3 separate regions of the Homo sapiens genome follow, and all the other regions are linked to region 3. The links are contacts of gene promoters, found by promoter capture Hi-C in human tissues and cell types (Jung and others, 2019). All regions are on one chromosome and are shown on one strand. The core of a region is centred on a gene start or on the middle of the fragment in contact, and the rest is flanking DNA. Distances in the headings are between cores, read along the strand shown.

Region 1 (3,315 bases), core at 779-3,278, 59 kb after region 3:
GTCTTTTCTTAAATGTATCAATACTTATACAAGGATAAATGTTTTTATGAAAAATTTTCTGGCCGGGCACTGTGGCTCATGCCTGTAATCTCAACACTTTGGAAGGTCAAGGTAGGAGGATCACTTTGGGCCAGGAGTTCAAGACCAGCTTGGGCAACATAGCTAGACCCCATCTCTACAAAAAAAATTTAAAAATAAAATTTCTATTAATTCTTAACTAAAACTCTGGAACATTTAAGCTAGATAACAATCATCCATGTTAACTGTTTCAGGGATTTCCCACATGAGTAGGTGAGAATAATGATACCAATTTGAATCATGGTTTCATAAAATACACTTTTTTTTTCAGTTAGACTAAACTTTCTTTTTTGTTTGTTTTGAGACAGTCTCGCTCTGACGCCCAGGCTGGAGTACAGTGGCGCGATCTCGGCTCACTGCAAGCTCCGCCTCCTAGGTTCACGCCATTCTCCTGCCTCAGCCTCCCAAGTAGCTGGGACTACAGGCGCCCGCCACCACGCCCGGCTATTGTTTTGTACTTTCAGTAGAGACGGGGTTTCACTGTGTTAGCCAGGATGGTCTCGATCTCCTGACCTCGTGATCCGCCCACCTCGGCCTCCCAAAGTGCTGGGATTACAGGTGTAAGCCACCGTGCTTGGCCCAGTTAGACTAAACTTTCTATCTTGAAAGAGTGAAGTAAATGTTTTGCCTTAATTATTAATACGTGTTTATTTTATTTCAGTGGTACAGGCATGGATGGGAAGAAATGCAGCGTATGGATGTTCCTACCTCTTGTATTTACTTTGTTTACTTCAGCTGGATTGTGGATAGTGTGAGTATTTGCTCATTTAATTATTTAAGGATTCAGGTGCAATGTAGATACAAATGTAAACCTTAATAGTATATGGCAGCCGGGCACGGTGGCTCATGCCTGTAATCTCAGCACTTTGGGAGGCCGAGTCAGGCAGATCACTTGAGGTCAGGAGTTTGAGACCCTTGCCAACATGGGGAAACCCTGTCTCTACTAAAAATACAGAAGTTAGCCGGGTGTGATGGCACACGCCTGTAATCCCAGCTACTCGGGGGGCTGAGGCACAAGAATCGCTTGAACCCTGGAGGCAGAGGTTGCATTGAGCTGAGATTGCGCCACTGCACTCCAGACTGGGCAAGAGAGCAAGACTGTCCCCACCCCCCCAAAAAATAGTAGATGGCATATCTTTATGACTGTATTTATAAATACTTGAAAATAATATATTTTACTAATTCAACCTTGCTAAAGTCCTCATTTCTTTTCCCATTTTCTATTAACCAAAGTAAGTAACAAGAGTGAGTAATAATTATGCAAAGCCGGTGGTGAAGAATACTAGTTTATTTTGTGTTCATGTGTTCTTGTTGTAATGAACATTTTGTAAACAGGTTATATGAATTAATTATTTGCAAGATTTTCGAATTTGACACTAACATGCCATGGGTTCCGTCTGCAGTCCAGTTCATAGTCCAGTTATTCATGATTGGGTCTGATATGTTTTTGTTTTTTGTTTTTTGTTTTTGTTTTTTTTTTGAGACGGAGTCTTGCTCTGTTGCCAGGCTGAAGTGCAGTGGCATGATCTTGGCTCACTGCAAGCTCTGCCTCCTGGGTTCACGCCATTCTCCCGCCTCAGCCTCCCAAGTAGATGGGACTACAGGCGCCCACCACCACACCCAGTTAATTTTTTGTATTTTTAGTAGAGTCGGGGTTTCACCATGTTAGCCAGGATGGTCTCGATCTCCTGACCTCGTGATCTGCCCGCCTCGGCCTCCCAAAGTGCTGGGATTACAGGCGTGAGCCACTGCGCCCGGCCTGATATGTTTATAAAATGAATATCATTACATTGGAAGTCCTGGCTTACCACAGAACGTTCCCACACTTGCTTATTTTAGGTAATATTCACTTTAAGAAAATTATTTTAGTTTCTCAAAGTTTGTTAGGAAAGGTAGGACACATATTCCCGAGAAGTTAGAAACTGAACCCTAATTTTAGTTTGCTCAAAGTTGTAAGTTCTATTTCCTTGTTTTCTAGTTTCCAGTTTATAAGCATGGCCATTACTTTGGGGATGTTTTGAAAATTAAGGAAATATTACTAATAATGACATTTGAGCTTCAAAGAACTAGATGATCTATGGGTAAAGAATTGTAAAAGAGCATTTCTCAGTTAGAAAAAATGAATATGAATTAGTGCAGTTAGTTTAATAAAACTGGGAAACAAATGATTCTTTTTTCCAATTTCTTTGTTCTATAAACTTATTCTTTTTTGATAGATACTTCATAGCTGTGGAAGATGACAAAATTTTACCATTAAATTCAGCTGAAAGGTAAAGTTTATCTGTGGGTAATTCGTTGTTCATCAAGAGATTTAGCAAAAACTTTCCCACTGGGAAGGTTAAACTGCACAAATGACAGTGCTTTAACCTGAGCTTCTGTGTTTTTTTTTTTTATTATCCAGGAAACCTGGTGTGAAGCATGCACCATATATAAGGTAACCCAGCAATTCTCTTCTGTCCTGTGGGACCGTAGGAAAAGTTAGGAGGATTATAGATTTTGATATAGTAACTATAAAACATTTCATCTTTTTCAAGCATTGCAGGTGATGATCCTCCTGCAAGCTGTGTGTTTAGTCAAGTTATGAACATGGCAGCCTTCCTAGGTAAGAAGAGGGTAAAGAACGCTTTATGTGCTTTGGTACATTTCTTTTGTATTTTAAATTCTCCCAAACCCTTGTCAAAACAATGGGGGGCTTATTTGATCATTTAGTATCATACGATGTCAATATGCTGAAGCCAGCTCTTTGTCTTAAAGGTCTTTTTCTCTCGTACATCCATTTACGTTCACCCTGCTGTCCTTACATTTTCTCTTCCCTTTACCATCTTTATCATTTCAGATACTCTTGACTTGATCTATTTTGCTGCATAAAATAATATATTTCATGATATAAAATCCTGTATGAGAATGTAATATTGTATAATACATTTGCTTTGAAAAGAATGCTTTATTTATTCCTTCACTAGCAAAGATGAAAAAAATGCATGGGCTTTGTGATATTTGTTGATGTGTGTAGATACTGTCTTTAAACCTAAAGGTCAACATCAGCATTAGGATTACACTCTCTCCTGTGCCTATAGACATAGTAAGCTGGCAAATGGAGAAGTAAGCTTAAAAAGAAGAAACCTTTAGTACTCATATCTAGCCCCAGTTCCTTTTTCTTTGGGGCCCAAGACCCTCCTGTAATATTCTGTCCCTCTGTGAGTGCGTCCATGACCCTGCATAGTCCTCCAGAGATGG
Region 2 (3,611 bases), core at 1,105-3,604, 42 kb before region 3:
ACACCTGTCTCCCGAGGCACTGCCCTGGAGGAGACTTGTGTTTCCTTGCTCATGGACCACAGTGATCGCTGACACCATTTTTCCTTTTGACTCCAGGGTACAGCAGACCACCTGTCCCATCTCTTTCCACACTCAAGATAATCGTATTTTAAACGACACTCTGCTTGATCCTGTTGGGGAGCCTTATTAGGCCCTCTCAATCCACCCCAAAAAGTTGTCCAACTTTGAGTTTCAGTGATAAGTTGTTGAGAGTCTCAGTCACTTCCCCCTCAGAAGGCCCCTGGGCTCCTTAGACAAGTGAGACCACTTCCTCCTTAGAACAATTTGTACTAAGAAGCACTGGGAGCAATATCTTGGTTCAGCCCAGAAAAGGTACTGTCCTTCCCTCAGGCAACAGGTGCCTAACTGCCTCTGACATTTCAGAACAAGTACATAACTATTAAGGTGTTCTTCTCATGAGAAGGAAAGGAAGTTAGGAGGCTGGTGGTCTCCTCCTACAGACCTAGAAATGTCTGGCATCATTTGAAAGTCCACTGGCCATGTTGTACTTTGAAATTCAGTTTAATTACCGTAAGCTCCATAGCATCCTATCACATGGATATAACATACTGTAACTTATTTAACTTTTCCCATATTTTGATATATTTAGGTGATTTCCTACTATAAATTAACTGAGATAAAAATCCCCACTCAGGGCTGGGTGTGGTGGCTCACACCTGTAATGCTGACATTTTGGAGGCTGAGGCAGGAGGATCACTTGAGGCTAGGAATTTGAGGCAGGCCTGGGCAACATAGAGAGATCTCAACTACAAAAAATTTAAAAATTAGCCAGGTGTGGTGATGTGCACCTGTGGTCCTAGCTGCTGGGGAGGTTGAAGTGGGAGGATCACTTGGGCCCAGGAGGTTGAGGCTGCAGTGAGTCATGATCATGCCACTGCACTCCAGCCTGGGTGACAGAGCAAAACCCTGTCTCAAAAAAGGGGAAAAAAAAATCCTCATTCGTTCATTCATTCATTCTACAAATATTTATTAAGCATTATGCTAGTCATTGTGTTAGGTCCAGCAGGATCTAAAGGTCTTATTCTCAAAGAGCTTATGTTGTAATGACAGGAAAAGAGGATTGCAAACAAGTGACTGTAAAATGGAATGCCTTCATACTTACAAGGAAGAAAAATAAAATGGTGCCAGACTGTAGTGCTACAGGAGTTGCTATTCCAGGTAGGGTGAGAGGGAGGGCTTGTGGAAAAGCTGATGTTTGATACAACCTATCCAATCTGGCAAATTGGGGAAGGTGTTCTATAAAGCACAACAACATCCACTTGAAGTTTTGTCTCTTTTGTTTTCTTTCATTGTTGTTTTGCTAATTGTATCACATATGAAAATAAATAAAACAGAGATCACTTGATTAAGTGAAATTACCACTGAAATCAAGACAAGTGCAGTTTGTACAAGTAAATGATGAGTCTACTGGATTTTAAAAAATCAGTGGCTGTTCAAAAAAAACACAATTAATATCATCTACTCTGTGAAATATGTGTGCTTTTAAATGAAAGGACAACATTGAAAACTTGGAAAAGCAGCCATCAAAACATGCTCCCTTGAAATGTGGCTGGATCTGTTTGTAATGGTTTCTTTCTTCTTAAGAGATTTGAGCGTTTTTTGCCCCTCAATAGTTTTGTCAACAACTAAACTGGCAGCAAATGAAAACTAGAAGACCTACTCAGACTCTGAAAGTAAATCTTTCACAACCTACTATTGCAATTTACTTTATTAAAAAGACCCTCTCTGCCTTTAAAATACTGCCCTAAATTTCAAATACTTGAATATCTTTGTCCCACTGATAACCAACTTCTTCATAATTTGGTACTTTAGTTTTATCACATTGCAAAATTTTAGGTAGCCAGATATCCAAATGTTTTCAAACTAAATTCCTGCTGTTGCTGTTTAAAATGTATATGTGTGTAGATGTATGTTTGTGCACATGTGTATGTGTGTGTACACGTGTATGTGTGTGTATGTGTATGCATGTGTGTCTGGTGTGTGTACATGCATATGTGTGTGCACATGTGTTTGTGTGTATGTGGGTGTGTGTATGTGTGCACATATGTGTGTGCATGTGTGTGTGTGGCATGTGTATTCTGGTTATCTATCTAATGCTGTGTAACAAACTATCCCAAAACTTGATGGCTTAAACATCAATCATTTTCCCATATTTATTGTCTGTGGGTTGAGAACTTGGGCAGGGCTTTCCTGGACAATTGTTATGCTCTGTATCACAGCAATGAGGTCACTCTGTGGAATTCAGCTGGTGGTGGGGCTAGGTTGGAGGGTCCAAGAAAGCTTTATTCACATGTGTGCCTCCTTGGCAGGAACAACAGGGAAGCCAGGCCCCTTTTTCTCTCCGTGTAGTCTCAAGAGCCCCTTTCTGTGGTCTCTCTAGCAGGGTTGTCAAACTTCTTACATGGTGGCTCAGGACTCCAGACCGTGTTCCAAGAGATGAGGGTAGAAGCTGCCAGTCTTTAAGGCCTAAAGGGAGCCTGGCACAGGGCCACTTGCATTGCATTCTATTGGTCAGAACAGTCCCAAAACCTGCTGGATTAAGAGGAAGTGACATAGACTTCACCCCTCAAACAGGAAGAGTATCAGAGAATTTTGTAGCCATGTTTAAGCTGCTACAATATATATTTAACTTTTTATTATGGAAATGTTAAATATATATAAAAGTTGACAATCAGTATGCAAACCTCTATGTACCCATCATTCAGCTTCAACAGTTGTCAACTCATGGCTAATTTGTTTCATGTATACCCCACCCACTTTCTCTACCCCTATATTATTTTAAATCAATCCCTAATACTAATTCATCCACTGCAGTTAAGTTTTATAGTGCTATGCTGAATAGAGGAGAGAACTTCTTTTAAAGGAATTATCTATTCATTTCATTTCACAGACTTTTCTTTGTTAATACCAACCTGCTCATACCTCTTAGAAGGTGTGTTTCTTCCAAGAAATCTCTATTTGAACAGACACAACAAGCGCTTTCCTGCCTATGTTCTGGTGAAACACAAACTGGACTAGGAGTCAGGAGACCTGGGGTCTAGCATCCCAGCCACTGACCAGCTATGGTAGATGATAATCATAATGATAATAGTTAACTCTTACTGAGTCCTCACTTGACTCCACATTCATTGTTTCACTTCTACGATTATTCCCATTTTACAGATAGGGTTAGAAAAGTTAAGCAACTTGCCCAGGATCAAAGAATAGCAGAGGTGGGATTGTATCTAAATCACACTAGGCCCTATTTCCTCCTGGATCCAATGTGGTCAATCATACAAACTCAGCCTACTTCACTGGAAAATTATATATTAAATGCTCAATAAACCACTTTGACAATACTTCAATATCAAATCGCAAAACCTTTTGAAATAGGTAATATATTTTCATGGCTCAAAAGTCGAAACAATATCAAACCGTGACGGGTCTGGCTCCCCTCCTCTTCCATTTATCTCATTCCACTTCCTATTTTCTCTGTACAAGTAAGCATTTTTATTATTTATTTATGCAAATACAGCAAATGTGAATGTGTGTATTATTGTTTCTCCTTTTTC
Region 3 (3,229 bases), core at 193-2,692:
AAATAAGGAAAACAAGAGAAGGCAAGATCCCTGGTCTCAGGAAGCTTACAGTCTAGTAGCCAGGAGAAAACAGTAACAAGAAATCAACATACAGAAAAAAAAAAAGAATCAATATACACATAGTAGACAATAATCACAAGAATTGTGGGGAAGGGAGAGTTCTGGAACCGAACGTTAATTGCAGAATTTGAATATGCTGAATTGGAGAAGATTCTTAGAAACACCTGGTTGGGCCGGGCGCGGTGGTTCACGCCTGTAATCCCAGCAGTTTGGGAGGCTGAGGCAGGCGGATCACTTGAGGCCAGGAGTTTTGAGACCAGCCTGGCCAACGTGGTGAAACCCCGCCTCTACTGAAAATACAAAAATTAATCGGGCATGGTGGCGGGCGCCTGTAATCCCAGCTACTCAGGAGGCTGAGGCGAGAGAATCGCTTGAACCCGAGAGGCAGAGGTTACAGTGAGCCGACATTGCGGCACTGCACTCCAGCCTGAGCGACAGAGCAAGACTCCGTCTCAAAAAAAAAAAAAAAAAGAAAGAAAAGAAAAGAAAAGAAAAAGAAAAAGAAAAAGAAAAAGAAAAAAAGGGAATGCCTGCTTGTGTAGAGACAGCAGTTTAAAGGAGACAGGTGTGCTACGGAAGCCCCCAAAAGAATAGAGGGCAGACTGACAAAGGCCGGTTGATAGAGAGCCACCTGTTGGAGGCCAGAGAGGTTGTGTTTGGAACCCAGGCTCATGATGAGCCTAAGATAAAAATGGCATTGATCCATGCTGCTGCTAGAGGTCACTGACATGGTGCCATGGGGTCCCATGGTAGGTTGGGGGTCCGGGATGGGGGAAGCTGTCAAAACGCTGATGAACACAGTTTATGACGGACTCAGACGAGACCCAGGGAGGAAAGCTGCAAGCTGGCGCTGGGAGGTCGGCCTTGGTGTCTGCTGTTCATTGCCAGGGTCCGAAGTTGGCTCTGTGTTTGTTCAATAGGATGGAAAAAAAAAAACCAAAAACCGCGGGACAGCGCTGAGTGGAGGAGAACTACATTCAGTCAATGGGCATGAAAATGAATTTTAGCTGCTTTGTGCAAAAACCCTAGGTGTGCGGACGAAAGAGAGCCAGGCAGAAGGTTACAACAGGTCAGGAATAAATAACCACCAGGCGGAGGATCCAAGATTCTGTCCTTCCTTTTGTTGGATGAGGAGCGCCAGGCAAACGCGTCCACAAAGGCTTCGGAAGGAAGCGGCTCGCCCGCCCACACCCGGCTCCTGCCCCGGGTGACTATTAGGGGCCCCGGGGGGGTGGCAGAAGCCCGAGACCCAGGGGATCAACTCTCCCCGAAGGCCTAGCAGCGGGGACCCCAGAATAAGTCGGGGGCGGGCCCCGGCGCGGCAGGAGGGGGCCGGGCGGGCGGGTGAGCAGATCCCACCCCTTCCTGAAGGAAGCGCCCTACCCGCCGCTACTGCTGCCGCCGCCGCCACCGCAGCAGGTCACAGCCCCTCGAGGCGACAGCGGCCCCGCCGCACCAGAGCAGGTAGGCGCGGCGCCCCCTCCCCTGCCTGGGCCCGTCGCGCAGCCAGGGGGCGTCCGGCCCGGCCCCGTGCGCAGCCCGCAGGCGGAGACCGGGGACGGCGGGGGCTGCAGCGCGGCTGGGGCGGCTGGGTCCGCCCGGCTGCGGGGCCCTGCTCGGCTGCGGCCCCCTCCCATAGCGTCCCGGGCGCGGGGCCGCCCGCCCGAGCCCTCCGCGGGCGCACGCTCCCCGGCAAGTCCAGGAGTCGGTGCCGGCTCTGCCCCGCGACCTGCGAACGCCCGAGCCGGCGCGCCTCGGTCCCCGCCGCCGCAGTGCCGCCAGCCAGCCCGCCCGCTGCGGCCCCGGCCCCGGCCCCGGCCCCGTCCTTTGACAGGTGTCCCCACCCGCCGCCCCATCATCTCGTTATCGGGTGGACTCGGGTGAGAAGCGACCCCAAGTTTGACCTCCCGGTCCCTGTGCCATTCTCCCTGCACTTTGCGGTTAGCCAGGTCAGGCTGGCTCGGGAAGCAGGGGATCTGGGAAGGAGGCACTAACTTGCTTTGCCCTGTGTACCGCCCTCCACTCTAAATGCACAGTCTTCCTTCCTTTCCTGGGCGCACACTTGGGAAGAAATGGGATTTTTGGTTTTTCGGCGGGAGGCCGTGGTAGGTGGGTTACCTAGGCTCTTTGGTAATCTGCTGCAATAAAAAAGTGATTAGCTTTGGGTTCTGGAGAGAGTCCTTGAGTGGTTTTCCCCTCCTTAAATGAATCAAATGGAGTATGAGAGGGTTTTCCCATTTTAAATTCATGCTCCTTTTTTCTCTACTCATTCCTTTCCTCCACCCCTACCCCCACAGCACTTTATGATGTCCCACACATTTCACTGATCTTTTTGGTCAGGTTTATTCCGGCCAGACCGCCTTTCACGGTTGGGCCAGGATTGTGACCGCATGTGGGAACATAGCTCAGGTAGAATGGAAGTCCATCTTCCCGAGTGAACCCACTCCGATGTCCTACATGCGAGGTCCTGTTGGGGAACCAGATATACCAATGCCATGTTGAAAAACAAAACCAAACAGTTATTGGATCTAAAACAATAACAAAGCCTAAATGGCAGGATCAGTTTCTGCATCTTTCTCTGCTTGAACCAAAGACATTTTAATAGTGCAGGGCTATAACTCCATTCTGGGCAGCAGTTCATCGAAAGGATAGTTGAGTGTGGATTTATAAACTCCATGGTAGCAGTCATTAAACTGACCTACTTAAAGTTTCCTATTTCAAGGAAAAATTGTTAGGCCCATATATGTGACCGATCAAAGAATTTTAGTCTCAGCTCTCATGTATCAAATCCCAAACTTTTTCTTGTATGTGTTCTAGAGACTCCATGTTTCCAGGATTAACTATAGCTGTCATCTATTAATGAGCTAGAAATGTGAGTTTAATCTTCAAGGCATAAGCGTAGGAATTTTAATGGTGTGTCCTTTATACATTATTTAATAAATGTTTTGCAAGTCCCCCAAGTTGGAAGCTCACAAACTGGACATGGTAAATAAAAGGGTAAAGAAGTTTTGCTAACAATAATGACTAGTTGATAGATGTTATGACATTCACAAATATATTAAAGTATTTGAAAAACACTTTAATGCATGTTTATTATAATCTGCCATTAGCTGAATGCAATCTGTTTGGATTATTTAAATTGGCATTTAAGTCTTCAGAGCAATTGCTT

Evidence for each region. The method cuts DNA at HindIII sites, captures the fragments that hold promoters and counts their contacts. A contact is called where the count stands out against the background at its distance.
Region 1: a fragment that was not itself captured here is called in contact with the fragment with the promoter of TMEM150C in region 3 in 1 of the 25 tissues and cell types used here (IMR-90 fibroblasts).
Region 2: a fragment that was not itself captured here is called in contact with the fragment with the promoter of TMEM150C in region 3 in 1 of the 25 tissues and cell types used here (mesendoderm cells).

Annotation. Positions count from the first base shown.
Region 1 is chr4:82,502,092-82,505,406 of GRCh38, reverse strand. TMEM150C (transmembrane protein 150C) reads left to right here. Exons shown (of 8, transcript NM_001080506.3): 2 at 740-829; 3 at 2,295-2,348; 4 at 2,480-2,512; 5 at 2,613-2,680. The coding sequence starts at 750. Among named protein-coding and RNA genes, the nearest start is that of TMEM150C, 58 kb to the left of the region's middle. The HindIII fragment of the contact is 8,691 bases long and covers 1-3,315 here.
Region 2 is chr4:82,603,147-82,606,757 of GRCh38, reverse strand. No RefSeq gene overlaps it. Among named protein-coding and RNA genes, the nearest start is that of LINC00575, 16 kb to the left of the region's middle. The HindIII fragment of the contact is 4,070 bases long and covers 320-3,611 here.
Region 3 is chr4:82,560,201-82,563,429 of GRCh38, reverse strand. It overlaps TMEM150C (transmembrane protein 150C), which reads left to right and starts at 1,442. Exons shown (of 8, transcript NM_001080506.3): 1 at 1,442-1,524. RefSeq lists an enhancer at 1,217-1,716. The HindIII fragment of the contact is 10,143 bases long and covers 1-3,229 here.